5 separate regions of the Homo sapiens genome follow, and all the other regions are linked to region 3. The links are contacts of gene promoters, found by promoter capture Hi-C in blood cells and fetal thymus (Javierre and others, 2016). All regions are on one chromosome and are shown on one strand. The core of a region is centred on a gene start or on the middle of the fragment in contact, and the rest is flanking DNA. Distances in the headings are between cores, read along the strand shown.

Region 1 (5,102 bases), core at 2,422-4,921, 570 kb before region 3:
CCTAACAGAAAAAAAAAGTGTGGTCTATATTTTATAAAAGTTATATTCTCTTGTTTCCCAACCACGTTTTCAGAAGGGGTCTTTAAAGACAAAAAACAACGTATAGTCATTTTTGGAATAAGCAACTTCATTTCCACAGTTTTTGTAGGTTGCATCTGTATTGGATATTTCATTAAATACACCTCTGAATGCAGTAAGCCCTTGGTACCCAAAATGTATTGCTGTAAATTTTCTATTGATCGACAGATTTCAGTATTATAGGAAATTCAATGTTGGCATTTAAAACACGTATGCTGTCAGCAAACATCTATAGGCAAAATGAAATCAACATTTTTGATTCATAAAGTGACGATTATATTACACAACCTACAACAGCTTATCTCCTGAACATCTGTAATTATTTTTCACTCTAACTCCCCTGGAAATTTCAGGTAAACGGATGTAATATTAATGGTGAATACTCACTCAGTGCAGGGTCTTTTGTTTGTCCCTTCTTCCTGATGGGGTGCAAATTAACAGCTGGCACCTGAAGCACCTGGCTTACTCTGTGGGGTTGATGCAAGTGGGCTTTAGTTGTTTGGCCAGCTGACCTCATAGGCACTGGAGACATTTCAGATGATTTGGCTGATCTTTTCTCACTTAAATTCTTGGTCACTAACAGGAGAGAGTAAGAAATAAGTAACTGCACGTTTTTAGGCAAGGTTATCACCACTGGCAATAATAAATGGTTACTTTAAAACCATCTATTTTTAGCACAAAAGATAAAATAGATTAATTTTTCTTAGCAGGAATTTCAGTTAAGTACTATAAGATGTTATCTCTATTGTTTGGTGAGTCAGATAAAAAATGTTATCTCTAAAACTATTGTAGAATAAGTTGTTAATTTTATCTCCTAAATAAATCTTTTTATTTTTTATTTTTTGAGATGAAGTTTCGCTCTGTCGCCCGGGCTGAAGTGCAATGGTGCAATCTTGGCTTACTGCAACCTCCACCTCCCAGGTTCAATGGAGTCTACTCTCTCAGCCTCCTGAGTAGCTGGGATTACAGGCACCTGCCACAAAACCTGGCTTTTTTTTTTGTTTTTTTTAAGACAGAGCTTTGCTTTTGTTGCCCAGGCTGGAGTGCAATGGTGCAATCTTGGCTCCCAGGTTCAAGTGTTCAAGTGATTCTCCTGCCTCAGCCTCCCGAGTAGCTGGGATTACAGGCATGCACCACCATACCCAGCTAATTCTGTATTTTTAGTAGACAGGGGTTTCTCCATGTTGGTCAGTCTGGTCTCGAACTCCCGACCTCAGGTGATCCACCCACCTCAGCCTCCCAAAGTGCTGGGATTACAGGCGTGAGCCACTGCGCCTGGCCTATTTTTGTATTTTTAGTAGAGATGGAGTTTCACCACGTTGCCCAGGCTGGTCTCGAACTCTTGACCTCAGGTGATCCACATGCCCCAGCTACCCAAAGTGGTGTGATTACAGGTGTGAGCTACCTCATCCAGCCCTAAATAATTCTTGAATCCATGTTAATTAGCTCCATCATCACTCTGCTGAGGGTCAAGTTAACATTCTCTCACCTTTACTACTGAAATACTTTTCTCACTGTATCAATTCTAGCATGCCTTCAAGGCATTCTTCATAGAATAGAAGAGTGACTCTGCCAAAATGAGTATTTGATCATATCATTTCCCTTCTCCTTCTGCACAAACCTTAACTTGCCCCTGCTTTTAGAATGAAGACCCAAATCCTTAAAACAAGGCCTATATGACCCTGCATGATTTAGCATCAGCCTGCTCCCTTGACTTGACTTGCTTACCTTTCCTCTCACCAGTCCTATACTCTCATTAGGCTTTATCTTCTCTGTTCCTTTCATTAGGCTTTAACCTACTTGAGAGTAAGGACTATGCATTTTGTTCGTTATTACATCCTTATGTGCCAGTAACTGACTGAAAACAGATGCTTAATGGGTATTTGTTGAATAAATAAGTGAAATTATCTCAACAGCTGTAACACAAGAAAACCAGAGACAGTGCTTTTATAAATCCATAGGTTTTCTGAATATGAATGTGAGAATAAAAAACTGAGAACCCTTACTTATAAAAGCTGCCTCCTTCATATAAAACCAATACTATAGTCCAAGGGGAAGACATTCTTCCATCAGGGAGTACTTTTAATCCTTAGGTTATCCAGGGTGGTTTCAATGCAGGTGCAGCCTCAGTACTTCATGAAGTATTTGTTTTAAACATCAAGATAAAAGCAAAAATAGATGTCTAAACTGTCTCAACACAGCTATAATAGCTATTATGCTTTTATTAAGACAGACTAGACAATATTTGGGGTGATAAGAATCAGAGAATGTCTTAGAAAGTTCAAATACAGGGACCCCAAGAGAAAATTGCAATGGCTCACCAACTAATTGAATCCAAGAGGTTATCATCTTTGGTTAGAGCCATGAAATACTTTCATCCTTCTCTCATTGATTGGTAAATGCTAATCAATGACATCTTATTTTAATAATTGCTACAGTACAAAGAAAAAAACCTGAGACTACTTCAAAAATAAGTTTACAGATGAATGACAAAAACCACATATATTCTAATTAATTGGGAAGAATCAAATTCTATAATGCTCAGAAATCAACTATTGTTTGGGCTTCGGATAGTGACTATTTAAACATTTAAAAATCAATTATGCATTATAAAGATGCTCAAACCAAATTAAAGGAACATGCATTTAACTAAATGTTCAAATCCAGTTTAAGAAAGAAAGGCCTAAAGATTTTCTCATTTTATTAAATATGTAGCATGGGACATCATTTAGTGCTATGAGAAAAGACAGACACAAGTCTGGGGTGGGTGTAAGAAGAGGAAGCCATGAGGGTGTATATAAACTGTGTTTCATAACCATAAGATGATTAAGTCTACATCAAATTACCTGGGAAAAAATAACTTTGATGATGACTCAAAGCAGGGCCAGAAAGCTTTAATAAATATGTACATGGCTTTGAACTTTAAAGCATGAATAAATGTTAAAGGTTCTATATACTCTTTCAGCTTTTACCTTTAACATGTACCATTTAACATGTGGCAGCCAGAATGTAGAAAGCTCTCAATAACTGTTAGCTTTTAAAAATGTCTTTTTCCAAATTTAATAACTTCGACGTACAAAGAATCACAGAAATAAAATGTACTCCCAACCCTTGCCCAAGTTTTACATTTGAGAAAACAGGGACTAAAGATGAAGAAAACCTTACTCAAATGTAATAAATGAAACTCAAATTCTGCCTCTATCCTTTCGTAGGTATTCTTTCCATCATACTCCAAATCTTTTCTTATATGCAGAAGCATTCAAGATATTGTTTTGATTATAGCACTTATTAAAAGGCTCCTTACCCTTATTTAAAAATTGTCAAAACTGAATTTTTAAAAATCAGTATTTGGTTCTATTTCCACTTCCTGTTTTCTATTCTTTCTTTTGACATACTTTAAAAAATTACTATGCAAATACCATATCATTTATCAATCTTAGGGTCAATCCATGATGACTACTACCCCTTGTCAACTAGGAACTTTGAAATAAAATTCTATTTCAATTTTTATGGGCAAATTTAACTCACTCTCTGTGTGTGTGTGTGTGTGTGTGTGTATTTATTTTTTAGAGACTGAGTCTCACTTTGTAAATTTAACCCACTGCGTGTGTCTGTGTGTGCGCGCGTATTTATTTTTGAGAGACTGAGTCTCACTTTGTTGCCCAGGGTGGAGAGCACTGGCATGGTCCTAGCTCACTGCAGCTTCAAACTCTTGGGCTCAAGTGACCTGCCTGCCTCAGCCTCCCAAGTTGCTAGCACTACCACTTGGATAATTTTAATTTTTTTTTGTAGAGATGGGGTCTCTTTGAGTTGCCAAGGCTGGCCTCAAGTGATCCTCCTGCCTAGGTTTCTAGGTGTGACCCACCACGCCTGGCCTTAACCTACAATTTAAGATGTACAATTATTTTGTTATAACAGTATATATTTCATTATCTTTGATTTCTGCTCTTAGAATTCATAATTTCCTTGATCCAAATATATATGCATTCTCTTGCTTGTATTTAATTAAAAAAAATCCATATTGAGAACACGATCTTTTCCATCACATTTTCTAGAGATTACTAATATTGGAATGTGTCTGATTTTTTTTTGTTTTACCTTACTACTGGCACCTGTAAGCTACCTATTATCACTGGTGTTTTAATCAAATTTCTTATATTTTCTAGTTGGTAAATATTATCCATGAAATAAAAAGAGGTAAAAATTCCACTTATGTTTACTCTTTAGGGATGAATATAAAAATGTTCTCAAACAGAAAGCCTCCTCTATAATGATCCAGTTTTTAAAAGAATTAAAAAGCTTTTTAAAGATCTACTTATCCCTCTATTTTTTGGATAGTGTAGCCATCAGGAATGGATGGGATTCAGTCTGTGATTAATTGGATCACATGATGCTTAAGGTATGCCAGCAATCTTTTGTGAGTGAAAGTTAATTTTCTTGGGACTTAGGTATAATTCTAGAGAAATAAGTTTTTATTTTGTTGTGCTCTTTAGCGTCACATAAATGAAAACTTGTACTCACAGGTACCATATGCAGGCTCCCACTGTAATGACATCATCTGGAACTTCTCCTCATCTGTCTCTACATCGAGACTGGAAAGATACTGCTTCACCTTCCTTGCCATTTGGGCATCCTCATATAGCTTCTTGGCATTAAGCAGAGAGCTGCGGCGTGCCCTTTTTTTGTGAGCACCTCCCTGAACATCCAGCATGTTTGAATTTGTGCTTCCTTGACTCAGTGACCTATAAGAAGATGAAAATCACAATAAGGGGCTATAGAGATGAGAACTAAGCATAGCAGATTGAAGATTAAAAGATTTTGTTCTGTTAATGCTATTGCATGCTGATGTAAATGAGTTAAAAGATGAAGAGCATTAATGCAAAGTAATTTGGCACATATGGTGACGTTCTGAATTAAGAACAGGATTTGGCAAAGTACAGAATTCAAAAGAATAGGATAACAATGGCCCCCTGAGTGGCATATTCCATCAGGCCTGTGTTTGTGCCTATGCAACCTATGGCACA
Region 2 (5,321 bases), core at 896-3,395, 540 kb before region 3:
GTTTATATGATAAGCACATGTAAATAATAATATTCCACCCCCCCTTGTTCTATCTTATTTCTTTTTGTCATTATAGAACTCTGGACCAATGTTCAACATGATAAGCTAATATTTAATATAATTAAATTTAAGTGAAAAGTGACTTTATAGCATGAACAAATGCTAAAAATTTTCCCTATGACAATAAATTACTGTTGCAAAAGTTTCCTTTTTAAAAAAATTAGGAATACAGGCTGGGTATGACTCACACCTGTAATCCCAGGACTTTGGGAGGCCAAGGCTGGAAGATCACTTGAGCCCAGGAGTTCGAGACCAGCCTGGATATATAGCAAGACCCCATCTCTACAAAAAATTTTTAAAAATTAGCTGGGTGTGGTGGCACATTCTTGTAGTTCCAGCTACTCGGGAGGTGGAAGTGGGAGCATCACTTGAGCCTGGGAGGTTGAAGCTGCAGTGAGCTGAGATCATGCCACTGCACTCCACTCTGGGCAACAGAGTAAGACCCAGTCTCAAAAAAGAAAAAAAGAATTAGGGAATATATATTACTGTGGCTTTTTTGTATGTGTGTGATGACTGCAGTGGGGGCAGGATGGAAGATTTTGGGGGCTCAAGTAATTATACTGTTTGTCCAGCATCACCTTCTTAGCATTATGGACACTGTTAGCCTTTAGAGGAAAACAAAACAAAACAAAACAAATTACAAATTTATCTCAAAATGTCCTGAGGTATAATCCCTGGTTAAAAGGGAGAAATGGAACAGATACAGATATGGCAGGAAATATTTTCATAAAATAAATTTTTTGGTCCTCTTGAGACTGAGGACCAAAAAAAAAAAAAAAAAAAGACTTGCTCTGAGGACTGAAAGATTCAACTGAATATACATGAATATAATTCCAGGGACAAGGAGTCTTAGCCAACATATGTTGAATGTTCTGGGTCCTCTCAAGTTGAAAGTAGAATACTTCATCTACTCTGGTTCCTTCTGTAAGAAGGATGCATCAAACTCTCTTTCCTCAATGTATTAAGAAATCTGAGTCATCAAATGCATCTTGTTCAGATTTCATTCTGATGAGCCAATACTTAGTGGGCTGCTGACATCATCAGGTTTTTAAACCTACAAGACTTAAGGTCAGACTGTTTCAAGATCCATCAAAATCAGACATACTTCTTGAAAGGTTTGGCTGTGTCCCCAACCAAATCTCATCTTGAATTGTAACTCCCACAATTCCCACATGTCATGGGAGGGAGCCAGTGGGAGGTAACTGAATCATGGGGGTGAGTCTTTCTCATGCTGTTCTCACAATAGTGAACAAGTCTCACGAGATCTGATGGTTTTAAACAGAGGAGTTCCCCTGCACAAACTCTCTTTGCCTGCTGTCATCCAAGATGTGACTTGCTCCTCCTTGCTTTCTGCCATGATTGTGAGGCTTCCCCAGCCACGTGGAACTGCGAGTGCATTAAACCTCTTTCCTTTGTAAATTGTCCAGTCTTGGGTATGTCTTTATCAGCAGCATGAAAACGGACTAATATACCTCTCTACCCTGTGCTAGAAGATTATTGCAAACAAATGGAAATTTCAATTTGCCAAGAGAAATATACTGAACAAATGGGTTTCCACTATCTTTTTAAGTCCATAAAAAAGGAACCAACAATATACTGTTATTACCTGTACTGTTGCTACCCTCTTCATAAAAGTAGGTCCTAGCTGTCCTGGGCTCCAGAATTGAATCATTTTACTAGATCTTTGGGGGCTGAGCCTTAGCCAGTGGTACTGACTGACCTTGAGGGAATGGGGAGATGTTCTGATACCTTTTATTACTTTCTTCAGAGAAATTTATTCACAAAGACAGGGTGGGAATTTGTACACATTTCATGTTCTCTTCCCTTGCTGCCAATATACTGTAACATCTTCTGGGAAGGAGCACACAATTGTATATCTTGCTGCATAGTGTTACAAAGTCATACGTTGTTAAAGTGATTTGTCCATGTGAAGGACAAATTGTTATATGATCACATAAGATTGATTCAGGTATCACACATGGGTGCCTTTAGAACAGATTCATAAATGGGATTATCTAAAGGGTATCCCTTAATCCAAACTCTGATGAATCTGCCAAGGTAACAAATGTCAACTTGGAAAAGCAATGGAGAGCCATCAGAGGAAAATCTTTCTCTGCGTTAATATTAATGACAGTGTAAACCTCTATTTTAGAATTATTACGTATATATTACATACTATTCTTTACAAACATGTTTCTTGTTAGTAGGAAAACCACATACATGCCAAGCACAATATTTGGCATGCAGCAGACACTCAAATGTTAATCGCTTAGATGAATGGTCAATATGTTCGAATAAAGTTGAATCAAAAGGGAAAAAATGATCCAATCATTTCAAATTTTAGGCACAAATCTAAAATGCAGACAAAAATACAGTACAATTTTAAAGGCAAAACAGACATTTAAAAAGAATCTTGGAAGCCAGGGGCGGTAGTTCATGCTTATAATTCTAGCACTTTAGGGGGCTGAGGTGGGCAGACCACTTGAGCCCAGGAGATCAAAACCAGCCTGGGGAACATGGAGAAGCCCGCCTCCACAAAAATTACAAATATTATCTGGGCGTGGTGGTGTGTGCCTATAGGCCCAGCTACTCGGGAGTTTGAGGTGGGAGGATCACTTGGGCCCAGGAAGTAGAGGCTGCAGTGAGCCGAGATCATACTACTGCAGTCCAGCCTGGGTGACAGAGTGAGGCTCTGTCAAAAAAAAAAATCTTGGGGTCGGGCGCAGTGGCTTATGCCAGTAATTCCAGCACTTTGGGAGGCCGAGGTGGGCGGATCACGAGGTCAGGAGAATGAGACCATCCTGGCTAACACCGTGAAACCCCATCTCTACTAAAAAAAAATACAAAAAAATTAGCTGGGCGTGGTGGCGGGCACCTATAATCCCAGCTACTCGGGAGGCTGAGGCAGGAGAATGGCATGAACCCGGGAGGCGTAGCTTGCAGTGAGCCAAGATCGCGCCACTGCACTCCAGCCTGGGTGACAAAGCGAGACTCCATCTCAAAAAAAAAAAAAAAAAAAAAAATCTTGGAGGATCAAGGTTTGTATTTCATATGTAGAAATCTTATGTAATAGGTAAATAAATTAAATAGAAACCTGATATCTAGACTTTCAATCAGAGATGAAGTTTCTAGAGAGCTAATTTATAAATCTTACAGCGGTAAAATTAAAAAATGAATACTTGAAGGATGTATGTACTGACCCTGAGATTACACTAAAAATGGGAGAACTTTTAGGTATTTAAGATGATCTTTAAAAAAAAAGACTGACTTTTCATTCTGCTTTAAATTGTTAATTGTTGAATAAATATTTATGAAGTGCCTGTTATGTGTCAACAGGGTTCCAGGTGATGAAGCTACAGTGCTAAGTGAGACAGATTAAGCCTCCACTCTCAGGGAATTTACTTACATTCAAGTGAGTAAACACGAGCTCGACGAAAGACAAGACATTGAGTAAGGAAGAGAATTCATACAGCAAAAAGCGCCACACAAAAAAACAAAGGGTAGTGGTATATTAAGGATTGAAAAAATTGTTCTGCAAAGAGCCAGATAGTAAACATTTTAAGTTTTGCAGGTCAAATGGCAAAACACATATTTTTTAGGCACTTATATAATGAGAAAACAAATTCTCACAAAATAGTTTTTCAAAACTCAAAATATAATAATGCATACATAAAACAGGTAAAGATACGTGAACACAAAGATTAGGCAATACTGTAAATGTCTACTAATGGGGACTGCTTAAAAAAATTCTGTTAGCTGTTTAAAAATTTGTGGTAGAACAACACACCTTGAAACAGAAAAGTATTCAAAGGTATATTGCTAAAGTGAAACAGTTAAGTGGAAGAAAAGTAAAACATCTCATTTGGGGTGAAAGCAACAGCAGACACATTTTATGTGCAATGAAATTTCTGGAAGGATATACAAGTAAATAATAACTAAATTCTGAGGAGTGGAAACTTTTATATTCTATCTTATTCTGGCAGTTTAATTTTTTTAAAGCTATGACTGTGTTCCTTTATAATTAAAAACTAATAATAAAAAATTTTCAATGAAGAAAAAATTAAGTTTACTATATGAAATAAATCAATTAAGGGTTTGGGCTATTAAGTGAAAAGAAGTAAGCTGTAAGTTCTACATGCAGATATAGAAAAAAATTCCTTTTCAAATTTCTCTTAGCCACACTCCTAATTTTTTTTAGGACTCATTTTGTATTGAGTCAGAAATCCCAAAGAACATTTCAGAAGTTACAGAATAGCATGTATACTGATTCCATCCAAACTTAAAAACATATATATATTCAAAAAAATGACTAAAAAGACACATGCCAGTTAATACTGGCTACCTTCTAAGTGGAAAGAAAAGTTGTGCTTACTACTTCATTCAATTCTGTATCATTGGACTTTTAAAAAATAACAAAATAATACATACAAACAAGGGCAATAGAATACTACAGTCTTTAAGATACTTACAATAAAAACCAACAGCTGTATGCAGCAAAAATAAAGCAAAATCAAAGTAAGCAATCAAAAACAAACTTACAGTTCTGTAGCTTTGCCCCCACTTTCATTTTGATCTAGTAATAACTTTGAAAATGAAGGATAAATATAGGTAAGCTCAAGACCAATAAACATTAATCAAACTTGGCTGTTACACATGTCCTATAATATACATATGTGATGTACATGGCTCATTTAAATTTTTGTGTTGTATAAATTACATAAGAAGCTGAATTTGGAATTAACTGGGAATTGATGTTTTTTTCAATCCAAATATAAATAATATCCATCACTAGATAAAAAGCCTTTCACAAAATTACACATTTGGGGGTTTAAAAATATAAGTTAAATACCTATCATATATGTGTTCACATTACTGGTATAAGCACATGTTGCAGACTGAGACATATCAGATGTTCTCTGAACAGATTTTAAAAAGGCATCTTTATCTTTAGTCCTTTAAACATGTTCTCAAGGAGAGAATTATGTAATCAACTTGAAATCAAGTTAAGTAACACACCTTTTCTTTATAGGTCTGAATTTCAGCTCCATGGGGACTTAGTTTCTAAAACTTAATAATTTCAACCTCTTCTCTTTGTTCCTCCAGCTAAATCTCCAACTTACTTCTCTCTTGCCTCCTCCTACAACCCTATCCCTTATTCCCTCAGCCCCACATCCTACATATACCTATGGCAAACATACAGCCATATAAATTATTAAAACTACAAATCATAAGATCCCTAATACTTGTCTCATGAAAGCATA
Region 3 (5,261 bases), core at 176-2,675:
GGCCTAACTTAAGGAAATGGTGGGGGTGAAGGAAGTGATTACTAGGCCCACCAACCCTCCAGGTTCAGGCCTGATCCAGCCAAGCACTTAGCATTGGTTGATCAATTAAAACCTCGAATGGAATCCCAGTCTGCCAAATATCCATGTGACACTAGGCAAGTCAATTGACCTCTGAACTCAGTAAAAAAAGGGATGGTGCCACCGACCTCCTAGGGTTTTCCATGAATATTAAATAACACGTACAAAGCCTCAGGTAAAGATTTCAAGAGGGTCAACTTCCTCCCCTTCCTTGGCTCAGAAAAAGCTTTATTACCACTTCTGATGGTGCTGTTTGAATGTGAGATAATAATAAACACTAACATTCATAGAGCATTTGCTGTGGCCTAGGACAGGTTTAAGGCCAATTTAAGGATCAAGCACTGCACACAAATTATCAGGCTGAATCTGCACATGGGGGTTGGGGTGGAGGTGGAGATCCTTTAGTGGTATTATACTCTGGAGGACCCCAGGCTCAGAGAGGGGAAGTAGCCGGTGCAGGTGGTAGAACTGGCAGATAAAAGGGCCTGTGGTGAGACTCCAGGTGTGGGTGTATGGGGGGTTGAGGGAGGTAAGCGCGGAGGCGGGATCGAGCAGGGGTCCTTGTAGCCGCCTAAGAAGTGCAGTGGTGAAGCTGACTCCTGTGAGGTGGAGGGGAGGGGTCTGGAAACAGTGGAGACACAGCAGCCCTGGGCAGAGCAGAGGAGCCAGGTGAACCCTACCTTACAGAAATCTTGTACTCTGGCTGAAGGACGGGCAGGGAGGGGTCGTGAGGAAGCCCCTCGCCGGGATCAGGAAGCCTAGGTCAGTCCGGGTTACATAGCTGACCTGCTGTGGGACCTCGGGGACCAACACCCTCGGTTTCTGGTCCCAGGAGATGGACAAGGACGCAATGTCTGTTCCTGGCCTTGGCTCAGGGCCTAATCTGATCCGCGGATGGTCCTTGCCATCAGGGAAGGGGGACGCAAGAACTCGGCGGGGGTTTGTGGTGGGGTCGCAGAGAGCAAGCCCTATATCTCCCTCCGCAGACCCAGGTGCTCCCCAAACCCGGCCCGGAGCCCGCGAGAACTGGGGGCGGAGGGTGTACTTAGGCGGCCCTGGGGACCTTGACGGGACAGCTCAGCAGCAGGGGATGGGGGCTCGGCGGCCGCGGAGATGTAACACCTCCACCTCGGGCGAAGACCTCATAGCCTGCGGGAGATGGGAGTCCGGGACGCGGACAGGACGGGCACTTACCTACGAATAGCCAGAGGGAGCCCCCCGACACGAGGAAGAAGGTCAGCATGGCGGTCAGCGGGGCCCGGCCCGGCCCGGCCCGGCCTCCCCGACCCGCAGCCCCGCAGCCCCGCAGCCCAGCAGCCCCAGCAGTAGCCGCGCCGCCGCCGCCGCTGCCGGGTATTTTTAGCCCCCGCCCTCCGGCCCCGCAGCTCCCGCCTCCCCGCGCCGCTGCGGAGACGGCTCAAGGGGGAGGGCGCGGCGCGCACTCGCAACCGAGCCTTACTCCCTGCCCTGCAGCCTGGCCGGCCGGGTCTGGGGCTTGCCCCGCACTGACCGCGGTGTCGGAACCGCCAAGCTCCCGGGCGGGGGAGGGGCCCGGCCGCAGAGCGAACCAGCCCTCTCCGGCCCCGCTCTCCAACGTCAGTACCTGGCATTCTGCGGAAACCGGCTGGAAGGGGGAGCACGGGCGACGAGCGCCAGAGCGTGACATTGAGCCCACCCCGCCGCCACCCACCCCATCAACACGCGACCCTGCCCCCGCGCGACTCGCAGCCTGGGTTTTATGGCTGGGCAGGCTCGAATGGCAGCCGGGTCGCGGTTACCTGTCCTAGGAGGTGCACACTCCTGTGGGCTGTTGCCCGCTGACACCAACGCCCCCTAGGACCCGAGTTTGCAGACATGGGGAGCCTCCGGGTGCCACCTCTGCAAACCAGTGAGGGGAGGGAGTGGCAAGTGTTCACCTAGGCTCTGACAAATCAGGCAGCTAGACCAGATAGTGCCCAGATCATCTGGGGACGCACGAGTTCAGGTCTGAGGCTACGCAAGGTCACAGGAGACTCAGTGTGATCACAGGCTGCCATATGTGTTCACCAGTAGTAACATGGTCACAGGCAGCCACATGGAATCACAGGTGTCTCATGAGGAAATCATGATCTTCGTACACAACTGTATGTGGCACACGAGGTCTCAAGAAGCCCCTCATAGCCACAATAAATGGCCATATAGCCACACACAGCCACAGATGCCCACACTGCTGGGCTGAGGGCTTGGACACCTGTTGCAGTGTCTGCCATTGAAAGGAGGAAGCCCAGTTGCACATTTTCTGAAATAATAAGGGTAGGCATCCTGGTGGGCACCCCATGAACATCTGCACCTCCAAGCAAGATCACCTCTTCCCAATGCCCTTGCTTGTTTTCCTCAAGCATGCAGAGCCCACCAGGACTCCAGCACCGAGGACAGCGCTCAGGCAGCCGGGCCTTCTCTATACGCAGCCCTCCCAGGCCAGGAGCTGGCTGAGCCACAGCCCAGAAAGAAGAGGATAGAAAACCAGAGAGCAGAAGTCAGGAAGCAGAGAGTGGAAGAGCATGAGATCTCTTCAGGCCCACCAGAGACCATCAGCCATGAGTGCATGTGGGCTCACAGCTCAGCAGCTGGGTGTGTGGGGGGGCCTGTATCTGTAGTACGAGTACATGGCATGTGTGTGCCCAGGCCTGTGTGCACCTTGTAGTGGTGCAAGTGTGCAGATGTGTGCCTCTGAGTCACTTCCAATCTTTACAATAGGATCCTACACCTTCTCCATCATAGGATCTGGACTCCTGGGAGAGCTGCTCCAGCTTGAACTCAGCCACAGCCTGGCAGGGACTTTGCTGGGATCTCAAGCTTGGCAGGGCTCCTCCAAGAGGGTGTGACAGAGGCTGTATGGCAGGACTCCTCCCAGCAAGTAACATGGCTTTGAGAATCCCCCCACCCCACCCATACACTCCCACTGGCAGCAGAGTAACTGGAGATCTGCTAGTACTGAAGAGGAGACCCAGGGGAACCAGAAGCCTGGGCAGAAAGAACATATCTCCCCAGACCAGATTGGTCTAGGGAGGTGGTCAGGTAATTTCCCCATAGGCCAGTGGTTCAACAGAGCATTTCTTCACAGAGCAGGGGGCCAGGAGCCAGGCTGCAAGCCTCAGGCCTCTGCGGCACTCAGCTGCAGGAGCACTCCGGGCCCTATGCGGCTCTGGCAGCCTCCTCTTCAGAGTGATGTCATGGGACACATTTAGCTTGGCCTCCAGCAGGATGTCGCATCCCGTTACTCTCCCTACAGATGTCTCTGCTACTTGTGAATATTTTAATTCAAAAACCAGTACTGGAGCTGTGACTGATTCTAGCTTAGCCAAGTATTTTTCTGTTTTCCTCTGAGCATGGCTTGGCTTCCCCTGAGAGATGGGGACAGAAAGGCCCTAGCCTGGTTGTGGGATCATGGCCAGGTCTCTCTCCTCTCTAGGCCTGTTCCTTCCACTGAGTAATGGGACTTGTTCTTTCCTGTCCTGAGTTCCCAAGGTCTTCTTCCTTCTCTGTGAGTCTCAATCTGTGGACCATCTGCAGGCATGGGTAGACGCTGTGACTCAGGCCCTAGACTGCATGGGTGTGGCATCCATGGAACCCAGGGCCCAGAAATGCCCAGGCCAGGCTGGGGAGCCCTTGGATATCCCTCTTGGTCCTTAGCCAGCAAATCCAGCCACCTTAGCGGCCAGCCATGTTCACACATATCTCCTCCCAGACTAGCATCTCTAAGTGGGTTGGCAGGCAGGAGCCTAATCATCTATTTGCAGCCCTGGCTTGGGGTCTGGCCCAAAGAATGCAGAGGATATTATCCCATTTGACAGAGCAGAAGACTGACGTTGGGAAAGGCGAACAACTGTCTTAGGTCACACAGCAGTTCTGGGCTCCTGACTCCCATTTATTCATTTTTCATTCATTCTCTCCTACATTTTGATAGTTTCCCAAGTTGCAAGTGTCTCCGGTAGAATCCAGAAAACTCACTTTTCCAGCTTCCTTTGCAGCTAGGAGTGGATTAGTGACTTAGACTGTACCAATGAAACACACTCTCATGAGCCTTCGATAAAAAAGCCAGAAATGAGTGAAAGAAAGTCATGCACATGGCATCTACGTTGCTGGCACAAGGGTGGTAACAGAAGCCATGGATGGTGGATGATTCTGGGAGTCATTTCAGAAACTGAAATTTGAGCCTGTTTCTTGAAGTGCCCCAAAAGTTGAGCCTTTTAGAAGTGAACATGTTCTTTAATGTACTCTTTTTCTGATTAAAACAGTCAGTCCAGACTTTGTTTAGTCAGTTTGGAGCCAAGAACTCAAACTGATCCACTCACCATCCCACTGCTGAAGGTCTTTCCTGCCCTCCAGAGGGTGTGGATATGGGGCTGGCACACAGCATGATGCATCCTCTGTCCCCATTACTGCATCTCCTAGTGGAAGCTCTGACTGATGGGGCTGGGTGGGCTGAGCCAGGTCTTTGCTTCTCTGTATTCTGACAACCACATATTTGGAGACCTGAACCAAAAACTTGAAACTCAACAAAGAATCCACTAAGGATAACTACCCAATCTGGAGCAAAGGCTTTTAACACATGATATAATGGTTGGGGAGCTGCAAACAATATTCAACCATGTCTTTTACTGAGTAGTGGTGTTTTTTCCCCCTCAGATTAGTAAAATTGTTCAACATAGAAATTTTGGAAAATATAGAAAAGTATAAGATAAAATCACTTGTAATTTCATCCCCCAATGAGAATGCAATAATAACTAATGCAGTTCTGTATATTTTCTAACAACAATAATAATATCCAACATTTACACAGGGCTTAGTATGAGCCAGACATTATTTCTAAGCACTTTACGTATGTGTTATGGACCGAATTGTGTCCCCCACATCCCAGTTCATATATGGAAGCTCTAACCTTCAATGTGACTGTATTTAGAGACAGGGTCTTTAAGGTAAGTAAGGATAAATGAGGTCATAAGGGTGGAGCACTAATCCAATAGGACTAGTGTCCTTATAAGAAGAGTAACATCAGGAATAAAGACCTGAACTTTATTGCGAGAAAGTTTATTGTGATAACTTTATTGCAGAGAGAAGGCAGTCATCTTTAAGACAAGGAGAGGTCTTGCAGACCAGACACCAACTCTACCATCACCTTGACCTTGGATTTCCAGCCTCCA
Region 4 (5,457 bases), core at 1,161-3,660, 520 kb before region 3:
CTAGAATTCAATGAAGCCTAAAAGCAGTGTCACTTTTCTCCACAGGACAACTGCTATTAGTAGGAGTTCCCTTTTCTCATTCCTCAAGCCAGGCTTCTCCTGGATCTCTGTCTGTACCACAGTACTCACATCCAGGTTTTAGGTTGCCTTGAGTCCAACCTAGGGCATACTAGAATTAAAATAATAGTGAATTCATTGCTGGTAGTGGTACTTTGAATTATGGTATTCTTCTGCGAATTGCCTGTTGCTATTTGCTTTTCAGAGTTCTCAGCTAAGTGGGTCATGATTCTGTCCAGGTTTACTATTAAGTTCAGTGAGAGATGAAGGGTGGTGTGTGTTTACTCCATCTTATCTGGAAATGGAACACTTAATTTGATTTTTATCTTCATGGACATAAAAGATAGCAAACTTAAAATCTGTGTCTGATATTCTGGAGCAACTGTGCTTCTGTTTCTGTTGGTTCTGGCTCATACTGACTTTTAAGAGTGCCTCATAATCTTTGCTTGACTCTGTTTTTAAAAAATTATTTTTAGAAATAACAAGTTGCTGTTAGTATCCTCTAAAGAACATATTTATTTTCTTTTGTCAGGCACCTATAATCTAAGTCCAGGGCCAAAACTGTAAGTTTTTCTTGGTCACCTAGATGGTCAGTTAGGTACAGCGCACATCCACTTCAGAGAGAGGTTTTCAAAGTCTCAATCCTAACAAAGGTTGTAATGCTACTATTTTATCCTTTGGTGGGCACTAAACTACAAACCTGTAAGTTTATCAAGGAGCTCCTCTCAGTTTTATTCTACGGATGGGAAAATGGCCCTGGAAAAAGAGACATCACTTTGGGATATGGTCCCAGGAGTGGGAAAAGGCTTTGACACATCCAGAGTTTTTCACTATCTTTTTGGATTGTTATGTTTGTTTATAGTTTTTCATATTTAGTCTAGCTCTTTTAAGTTGTCTTCAGTCAATACTGGAAGTAGAAAGTTGACACAAGTTTTGTTTAATACATTTTCCTCAGCTCATAGTGAGGCCTTTGAAATACGAGAGTCACATCCTTCTTTTACTCTGGGATATTCTCTGCTATTATTTCCTAAACATCTTCTTCCTTACATTTTCTTTTAGATATCCTGGAATAGAGCTTAATTTTACTTTGTCTTTTTGTTCCATAGTATGGGAGATTTTTCTCAACTTTATTATCTATTCTTTCAAACAAATGTTTTTGTCTGTAAGAGTTACTTCTTTCTCAATGATTGTTGTTTATTCTTTCCTAATATCCTGTTCTTGTTTCAAGGGATAAATTTTTTTTTTTTTTTTTTTTTGAGATAGAGTCTCGCTCTGTCCCCCAGGCGGGAGTGCAGTGGCGCAATCTCGGCTCACTGCAAGCTCTGCCTCTCAAGGGATAAATTTTTAAATTGCTCTGTGCAGCGTCCTAGAAATGTTTTTCTTCTCTCCTTTAAATATTTTCTCCAGAATCTATAAGATCACTCATTAGGTCTCTACCACACCCTCTCAATGATCCTGATTCTCCTTATGCTTGGTGATCCCTGATCGTCAGTTTTAAGTAATAAAAGGACTGAGAATGGTTTGTTCTAGTATTGTGTCCAGAGTTGGTTCCTTCCGGTGGGTTCCTGGTCTCGCTGACTTCAAGAATGAAGATGCAGACCTTCACGGTTGAGTGTTACAGCTCTTAAAGATGGTGTGTCTGGAGTTTGTTCCTTCAGATGTGTCCGGAGTTTCTTCCTTCCGGTGGGTTCATGGTCTTGCTGACTTCAAGAATGAAGCCGCGGACCTTCGCGGCGAGTGTTACAGCTCTTAAAGGTGGTGCAGACCCAAAGAGTGAGCAGCAGCAAGATTTATTGTGAAGAATGAAAGAACAAAGCTTCCAGAGGGTGGAAGGGGACCCTGGCAGCTTGCCCCTGCTGGCTGGGGTGGCCAGCTTTTATTCCCTTATTTGTCCCTGCCCACATCCTGCTGATTGGTCCATTTTACAGAGTGCTTGATTGGTCCATTTTACAGAGTGCTAATTGGTCCATTTTACAGAGTGCTGATTGGTGCATTTACAATCCTTTAGCTAGACACAGAGCACTGATTGGTGCGTTTTTACAGAGTGCTGATTGTGCATTTACAATCCTTTAGCTAGACACAGAGTGCTGATTGGTGCATTTACAATCCTTTACCTAGACCCAGAGCGCTGATTGGTGTGTTTTTACAGAGTGCTGATTGGTGCGTTTACAATCTCTAGCTAGACAGAAATGTTCTCCGAGTCCCTACTTGACCCAGGAAGTCCAGCTGGCTTCACCTCTCAGTATCACTGAACCAATGTCTTCTGGTCACAGGTTTCCTTTTTGTAGGTGTCCTCACTGTAAGTTTGATACAGGACAACCTAACTGCTCAACTCTATTTCATGGTAATGCCAGAGTTATTAGGGCTTTATTAGGGGCATCACCACATCTAGAGTAAAATGCTCCATTTCTACAAATATTTTACAAATATTCCTTTGTAATTTAATAGATAAATTAAAATTCCAGAATAGAAAGAGAGTAAACTGAGATTGCCAGCTGTTTTCTTCTCTGGGTGCATTTTCTAAATCTAAACATGAGGTATTTAGCTTTCTCCTTGGTGTTTTGCTTTCCTCCTAGGGTAAGGAAGAAAGAGGTGACTGCTATGTTCCCCCTTTGCAGCTCCATGTAACTTCTACCCTCTGCTATATCCAACCTAGGGTTCTGTTGGCCAACTGTTTTCCCACTACTCAAAGGGTTCTGAGGGTATGGCTTCTGTCTTTTGCATCCTTCAGATCTACTTTTCTGTGTCCCAGAGTTCATGGGGGTTCACACTATCTCTGTATTTTTATTCAGAATATTTAATACCAGTTAGTAATCTTTATGTGACGGGTACAAAAGGTTTAAAGGTATTAGATACTTAGAAGAAACCTAGGAAATAGTGCTAGAGAAACTGAAGCTTGGAAAGACTAAATAATTTGCTCAAAGTAAGAGAGCAAGTCCTGCTTTCTTATTTTTCGAAACTGGAAATCTCTTTCATTTAACCTAAAAGTTGGCATTTCTAGATATTAGTCGAAACTCCAGGAAATCAAAAAATTCTGAAGGCTTACTTACTTATTCTATGCTAAAGTAATATAATACTAAATTGCCAATTGACAGTTTACCAGATTTAACATGATGTAATTCAGTCAAAGGGACTCAAAAAGAGGAAAAACCCCACGTTTCATTTTTCATTATGACTAAGCACAATATAAAAAGCCAAAGTGAAAAAAATAAAACTCACACTTCCCTTCCGTAGGCATAGCTTTTAAAGCCAACTCTTACTTCTCAAATTGTAACCTAAAAAACCTAGAGAGATTTGTTTTCCTCCCTACTTCATAAGGACTCTTAAAGTTTCTTTGTTATTTCAATTGCTGTATGATTTTTACTGTTACTCTTTTCAGAATTTCTGAAAAATCCTAAAGTGTCTAAGGCAATCAAATCACATTAAATCTTTCCTAAAAGTTTAAAAAAACACACAGTAGATTTGGTTAAAAGTATGAGCTTAGTCACTGGTTTTATTTAAATATAAACATGATAAAAACACAACAGAGGCACTGTAATCATTTTTCCACACAAAGGTAGAGTATGCTCTTATTAGAAATCTGTAATTCACTAAGTACTTAAGTCAATGCTTTACTCAGTTTATTTCCATAAAACAGCTAATCTGGCATTCATATTACTTCAGAAAGCTGGCTTAAAGATTAGAAGTAGACTAATTTGCACACTAGCTGGGGGAAAAAATGCCTGATTATGACTTCTTAGTTTTATTCCGGACATTCTATATTTCATTCAGTATCCCTCCAGCAGAGTACATAATACACGCTCCATAGGAATTTCATAAATAACTGAAGGTAGCTGTACACCTATTTTAAAACTTACTATCAAAATAATTAAAAACATAATGAAAAATGAAAATTCTAGAATACATAATAGTTCAAAACTAAAGATTCTGAAACTAGCTGAAGAGCTTAGACAAAAACATGTTTATATTTTACTATCTTTTCTTCCACTGTAATGACTTTTCTATTACCAAATTAAGAAGAAAGAGTTCAGGCAATTTTTACAACAAAACTCACCAAAAATGTTGGTCTTCACAGTAAGTGCAAGATGAGTATTATTCCTCAAAATTTCAACGGCTTTCATAAATGTAATATTCTCAAAGTTTTGTCCATTTACTTCCATAATCTTAAAAGTATTTAAAAAATACAAATTAATACAGAACAGTATTAGTTACTCCTACAACCTTAAAAGTTTAATAGTGAATAAATAAAATGAAACTTGAATAAAATGTACTCCTATGTGAACAACAGTTATCTCTGTGAGAAGCTGGACTACTGTTTTTCTTTTTCTCTATATTGTTGTATTTTCCAAATTCTTTACTATAAACTTTTTTTTTTTTGACAGTTAATGCCCTCTGGGATCATACTGAGGAAATTTAAAAAATACCCACACCAGATGGTTTACAAAGGAAAACATTTAATCATGGCAGATCAGCTCATAAAAATTATTGCCTGCAAATGTATATACAAATTTGTCAAATATTCTCAATGTAAATTTACTGAATTTCAAAGAGAGGTAATTCTTTTAAAGGGAGTACTCTAAATATATTTAATATGATTTTCTGCCACTGATTGAATCAGGCAGCCAAACAGCAAGAAGCACAACTGAAATGGGTTCTTCTTCCAGGTAAACACTGCTGACCCTTCACAAGAGGGCTTCCCCAATTTGGCTATACCTCAGAATCATAGAAGCAGTTTATTTCAAGAAGTACTGATTCTAAGGGAAAAGGATAAAAAGATATAATGAGCAAAAACTAGTCAGAACAGAGAGCAGATCTAGGGGATCAACATAAAAATTTCTAAAGGATAAGAAAAAGAGTGAAAAAATATTAGGGAAAGAAAAAAAAATTCCATAGAAGTAAAATTCCCAGAGTTGAAAAAAGACTTGCATCTATGCACTAAAATGTCTCATCTAGTACCATGCAAAAATAATAAAAAGAGATCTATTTTTAAAAACATATCCCAATGAAATTTCTTTGTTCCAAGAAGAAAGAATAAAGAATCTATAAACATCATTGTGGGAAGATAACCCAAAGGTACCTACAAAAGAAGCGCAAAGAGTTTGGACTTCTCTTGGGCAACATTAAGTTGATGTGATAACTTTCTGTGACTTTAGTATTCTGAGGGAAAAGTCACTGTGGGAAAAAAATGTTACGCTCTATTGAACACAAGTATCTTCAGGAAGGCAAGAACATATAATACTGTATCACCCATCTGTTCCTTAAAAAAGTACTAAAAGAAGTACCAAAGACAACTGTGAAATGAGTTGAAATAATGGGGATATACAGTGCAAATGAAATAAAAGTGATCAATGAAATCAGTTAAGCAGGTGTAAATGTCTAAATGCTTGTTTAAAAGCTTAT
Region 5 (5,174 bases), core at 1,247-3,746, 600 kb before region 3:
CAGACAGCTGAAATGACAAGTGGAGAGCAGGAAGGAGAGCTCAAGTGCCCTGGAGGTGTTGCATCCTGACCCTTGGGTGTTCCAGGGAATACCCAGTTATTAGCTCTTTGGCTTTGAGCAAGATATGTATCATCTCCAACCATCTGTTTCATAATCTATGAAACTGGGAGAGTAAAAGCTCTTTTCTAGGATGGTTGTGAGAATTAGATCACATAAGCAAAGCCCATGCCCATCACAGGACTTGTGTTTACTCAGCTCCTCCTGTGCCGGAACTTGCTGAGCTCCCCTCTCTCCTCCCTTGTTAGGCTGGGGCTGTAAAATAGAAATCTGGAACTAATAAAAGTCTAATGGCCAGGTGTGGTGGCTCACACCTGTAATCCCAGCACTTTGGGAGGCTGAGGCGGGTGGATCACGAGGTCAGGAGATCAAGACCATCCTGGCCAACATGGTGAAACCTCGTCTCTACTAAAAATACAAAAATTAGCTGGGCATGGTGGCGGGTGCCTGTAGTCCCAGCTGGTCAGGCGGCTGAGGCGGGAGAATCGCTTGAACCCGGGAGGCAGAGTTTGCAGTGAGCAAAGATTGTGCCACTGCACTCCAGCCTGGGTGACAGTGCGAGACTCCGTCTCAAAAAAAAAAAAAAAAAAAAGTCTACTGAATAAACCGATAATTGAACCTATTCTGGAAGTTCTACTTTGTGTTTTTTTCTTAAGAAGGAAAATGGAGATGGTAATTATGTGAGCATTTTTACCACCTGTTTCATCAGAAGCCTATGTTGCTGATTTTCTCTTTCACTAGTCCTTACAAATCCCCCATTTTATGAAACACCAAGGGCCTGAGGAACTTTCACAAGAGCAGCCTTCAGCTAGACTGAAGTGCCTGCCTGCCTTCAGATTATTCATTATGTCAGAGAGCTGCAAGAGGTGACTGGCAGACAAGAGAGAAAACTCTCTACTCAGTTCACAAACTGCCAAGCAGAAAGACGAGTGTGCCAATGTAAGGCAGGTCAAAGAACTGCCCTGCATTCTGGATTCTGAGTCAAGGAGATCACTAAGAGGTTTGTTTAATCCTAGACCATGCTGTGTTTGCCTCTCATTGACTTCCTGGCTTGGCTGCAATGGGTTGTCCCCTTCCTTAGCGCCTGGCAGGCTAGGAAAGTCCAATGTCCATGTCACAGGGTTTGGCACGTGGTGTTTTCCACATGCGATGCTACATCAAGATTTGTGTCTGAGGTTTCAGTTGAAATTATCAAATGGCTTTTCTCAAGCCATTCATGATCTGCTCATCCACTATTAAGTCCCTGCTATATGCGATGCACAGCAAGTATGCTCTGTATAAAACACCAGTCATCATCTTAGTGCCCTCAAGCAAACAAGGACCCCGTGTGTTATGGTTTATAGAGCCATGCAGAATTCCTGCTGCCTGAGGAACAAAAACAGCCCAGTCTTGAGGTCTTGAGTAGTTGCTGAAAAATCTGAGCTTTTAACATGGTCTCTTTTAGGGTCTCCAATTCTTATTATGGTCAGGCTCTCACACACCTGCTTTTTAACAAGATCTCACTAAAGGCAACAATTTTTGCTGGCATAGCGTGTTGGGCACAGGTGGTCTCAATTATTGTTTATCCCAAGTACGCATGTAAATGTGAAAAGAGAAAAGTACATCGGGCAATTGAGTCTGACTTTCATTTTTCAGCTGTGTGTCCAAGTCTACTGTAAGGCAATTCTTAATGTACACTTGATTTCCATAATGTTTCCCTTCTATTTTCCCACCTGCTGTTGGCTTTGAACAACCTTACCTGAGCTGAGAATGGCTGCTTCTCTGGCAAGAAGTTTCTAGAATGTGTTTGCTGGGCCAAAGCTTGGACACCTGATCTCTTCAGAGATCTTGTGGATAGACTGATAGAGAAGAAAGAAAATAACTCATGCAGCAATGTATAAAACAGACGAAGAGGTGTTACAATGATCAAAAGGGACAAAGTAAAACATACAGAAGTCTAACTGATTCTGCATCATTGTGAATCAAATTACATACTAACATGAATTTTACAGAGATCCAAAGCCTTTTTGAGCTAAAGCCAAAGAACCAGGAGATCTTTATTTTTTTAACTGCAGTAAAATATACACAACATAAAATTTACCATGTTAACCATTGTTTTTCCTTTTTGAGACTCTGTTGCCCTGGCTGGCATGCAGTGGTGGGATCATAGCTTACTGCAGCCTCTAACTCCAGGGCTCAAGCGATTCTCCCACTTCAGCCAACCAAGTAGCTGGGACTACAGGTGCCCATCACCATGCTCAGTTAATTTTTAAAAGTTTTTATTTGTATAGACAGGAGTCTTGCTCTGTTGCCAGGCGGGTCTTCAACTCCTGGGCTCAAGCAATTCTCTTGCCTCAGCCTCCCAAAGTGCTGGGATTATAGGCATAAGCCATCATGCCTGGTCTTTTTTTTTTTTTTTTTTGAGACCGATTCTCCCTCTGTCTTCCAGGCTAGAGCACAGTAGCGTGATCTTGGCTCACTGCAACCTCTGCCTCCCACGTTCAAGTAAACCTCATACCTCAGCCTCCTGAGTAGCTGGGACTACAGGCGCACGCCACCATGCCCAGCCAAGTTTTGTATTTTCAGTAGAGACAGGATTTCACCATGTTGCCCAGGCTGGTCTTGAACTCTCGGCCTCAAGTGATTCACCCACCTTGGCCTTCCAAAGTACCAGGATTACAAGTGTGAGCCATCAAGCCCAGAAGTCTTAACCATTTTTAAGAGTACGATATCAGTAGTGTTAAGTACTTTCACATGTTGTACAACCACATTCGCATTGCTGTTGAACATTTTCATCTTGCAAAACTATACTAATTAAATAACTCCCCATTTCTCCCTACGCCTGGCAACCACCATTCTACTTTATCTATGAATTTGACTGCTCTAAGTACCTCATAAATTCATATACATGTTCTCATGTATCCATATATATGTGGAATCATACAATATTTGTCTTTCAGTGACTGGCTTATTTTACTTGGCATGTTTGTTCTCAAGGTTCATCTATTTTGTCTTTATTAAAATACCAATGACATTCTTCACAGAAATAGAAAAAAAAAATCCTAAAATTTATATGGAACCACAAAAGACTCAGCACAGCCAAGCTTATCCTAAGCAAAAAGAACAAAACAGAAGGAATCACATTACCTGACTTCAAATTATACTATGGAGGTATAGTAACCAAAAGAACATGGTTCTGGCATAAAAACAGACAAAGACCAATGGAACAGAATAGAGAACACAGAAAGAAGTCCATGCACCTAGAGTGAATTCATTTTCAACAAAGGTGCCAAGAACATACACTGAAGACAGTCTCTTCAATAAATGGTGCTGGGAAAACTGGATTTCCATATTCAGAAGAATGAAATTAGACACCTCTCACCATATAAAAAAATCAAATCAAAATGGATTAAGGATTTAAAACTAAGACCTCAAACTATGAAACGACTACAAGAAAACATTGAGGAAAGTCTCCAGGACATTGGTCTAGGCAAAAATTTCATGAGCAACACCCTACAAGCACAGGCAACCAAAGCAAAAATGGACAAATGGGGCCGGGTGTGGTGGCTCACACCTGTAATCCCAACACTTTGGGAGGCTGAGGTGGGTGGATCACAAGGTCAAGAGATCAAAACCATCCTAGCCAACATGGTGAAACCTTGTCTCTAATAAAAATACAAAAATTAGCTGGGCATGGTGGCGCACACCTGTAGTTCCAGCTACTCTGGAGGCTGAGGCAGGAGAATCACTTGAACCTAGGAGGTGGAGCCTGCAGTGAGCCGAGATCGCGCCACTGCACTCCAGCCTGGCAACCGAGTGAGATTCTGTCTCAATAAAATAAAATAAAATAAAATGGACAAATGGAATCACAACAAGTTAAAAATCTTCTGGGCCGGGCACGGTGGCTCACGCCTGTAATCCCAGCACTTTGGGAGGCCGAGGCGGGTGGATCACGAGGTCAGGAGATTGAGACCATCCTGGCTAACACGGCGAAACCCCGTCTCTACTGAAAAATACAAAAAATTATCCAGGTGTGGTGGCGGGCGCCTGTAGTCCCAGCTACTTGGGAGGCTGATGCAGGAGAATGGCGTGAACCTGGGAGGTGGAGCTTGCAGTGAGCCAAGATCATGCCACTGCACTCCAGCCTGGGCAACAGAGCAAGACTCCATCTCAAAAAAAAAAAAAAATCTTCTGCACTGCAAAGGAAACAATCAGGAAACAATCAACAAAGTGAAGACACAACCCACAAAATGGGAGAAAATATTTGCAAACTACCCATCTGACAAGGGATTAATAACCAGAATATATAGAAGCTCAAACAACTCCATAGGAAAAAATCTAATACAATAAAAAAAATGGGCAAATGGTTTGAATAGAAATTTCTCAAAAGACATACAAATGGCAACAAATCAAAACTACAATGAGAAATCATCTCACCCTCAGTTAAAATGGCTTATATCCAAAAGACAGGCAATAACAAATGCCAAAAATGTGGAGGAAAGGCAACCCTTGTACAATGTTGGTGGGAATGTAAATTAGTGCAACCACTATGGAGAACTATTGGAGGTTCCTCAAAAAACTAAAAATAGAGCTACCATCCAACAGTAGGATCCAACAATCCTACTGCTGGGTATATATACCCAAAACAAAGGAAAGATATCTGCACTCCCATGTTTGTTACAGCACTGCTCATAAAAGCTAAGATTTGGAAGCAACCTAAGTGTCCATCAACAGATGAATGGATAAAGAAAACGTAGCACAGGCCAGGCGCGGTGGCTCATGCCTGTAATCCCAGCACTTCGGGAGGCTGAGGCAGGCAGACAGCTTGAGCTCAGGAGTTTGAGACTAGCCTGGGCAACATGACAAAAACCTTGTCTCTACTAAAAATACAAAAATTAGCTGGGCGTAGTGGCACATGCCTGTGGTCCCAGCTACTCGGGGGACTGAGGTGGGAGGATCACTTGAGCCCAGGAGGTGGAGGTTGCAGTGAGCCAAGACCACGCCACTGCATTCCATCCTGGGTGACAGAGACCCTGCCTCAAAAAAAAAAAAAAAAAAAAAATTGAGTGGCACATATACACAATGGAATACTATTCAGCTATAAAAAAGAATGTGATCCTGCGTGTCATTTGCAACAA

Evidence for each region. The method cuts DNA at HindIII sites, captures the fragments that hold promoters and counts their contacts. A CHiCAGO score of 5 or more calls a contact.
Region 1: a fragment that was not itself captured here is called in contact with the fragment with the promoter of ACSL6 in region 3 in 5 of 17 cell types (endothelial precursors, M2 macrophages, erythroblasts and 2 more); the score reaches 10.0 in endothelial precursors.
Region 2: a contact is called between a fragment that was not itself captured here and the fragment with the promoter of ACSL6 in region 3, in 1 of 17 cell types (naive CD8 T cells). The highest score is 5.0, in naive CD8 T cells.
Region 4: a contact is called between a fragment that was not itself captured here and the fragment with the promoter of ACSL6 in region 3, in 1 of 17 cell types (activated CD4 T cells). The highest score is 5.6, in activated CD4 T cells.
Region 5: a fragment that was not itself captured here is called in contact with the fragment with the promoter of ACSL6 in region 3 in 1 of 17 cell types (endothelial precursors); the score reaches 6.0 in endothelial precursors.

Annotation. Positions count from the first base shown.
Region 1 is chr5:131,441,884-131,446,985 of GRCh38, forward strand. RAPGEF6 (Rap guanine nucleotide exchange factor 6) reads right to left here. Exons shown (of 28, transcript NM_016340.6): 22 at 4,600-4,820; 23 at 466-654. Among named protein-coding and RNA genes, the nearest start is that of CDC42SE2, 180 kb to the left of the region's middle. The HindIII fragment of the contact is 1,407 bases long and covers 2,969-4,375 here.
Region 2 is chr5:131,465,272-131,470,592 of GRCh38, forward strand. The region is part of intron 17 of RAPGEF6 (Rap guanine nucleotide exchange factor 6); the gene reads right to left. Among named protein-coding and RNA genes, the nearest start is that of RAPGEF6, 170 kb to the right of the region's middle. The HindIII fragment of the contact is 6,775 bases long and covers 1-5,321 here.
Region 3 is chr5:132,010,233-132,015,493 of GRCh38, forward strand. ACSL6 (acyl-CoA synthetase long chain family member 6) reads right to left here and starts at 1,426. Exons shown (of 21, transcript NM_001009185.3): 1 at 1,273-1,426. The coding sequence starts at 1,321. LOC124901062 (a long non-coding RNA gene) reads left to right here and starts at 1,224. Exons shown (of 2, transcript XR_007058933.1): 1 at 1,224-1,313; 2 at 5,172-5,261. The HindIII fragment of the contact is 2,609 bases long and covers 303-2,911 here.
Region 4 is chr5:131,485,435-131,490,891 of GRCh38, forward strand. It overlaps RAPGEF6 (Rap guanine nucleotide exchange factor 6), which reads right to left. Exons shown (of 28, transcript NM_016340.6): 15 at 4,112-4,220. Among named protein-coding and RNA genes, the nearest start is that of RAPGEF6, 150 kb to the right of the region's middle. The HindIII fragment of the contact is 1,079 bases long and covers 1,872-2,950 here.
Region 5 is chr5:131,406,313-131,411,486 of GRCh38, forward strand. It overlaps LOC105379173 (a long non-coding RNA gene), which reads right to left. Exons shown (of 3, transcript XR_007058929.1): 3 at 1-1,895. Among named protein-coding and RNA genes, the nearest start is that of CDC42SE2, 140 kb to the left of the region's middle. RefSeq lists a silencer at 2,407-2,588. The HindIII fragment of the contact is 1,283 bases long and covers 1,856-3,138 here.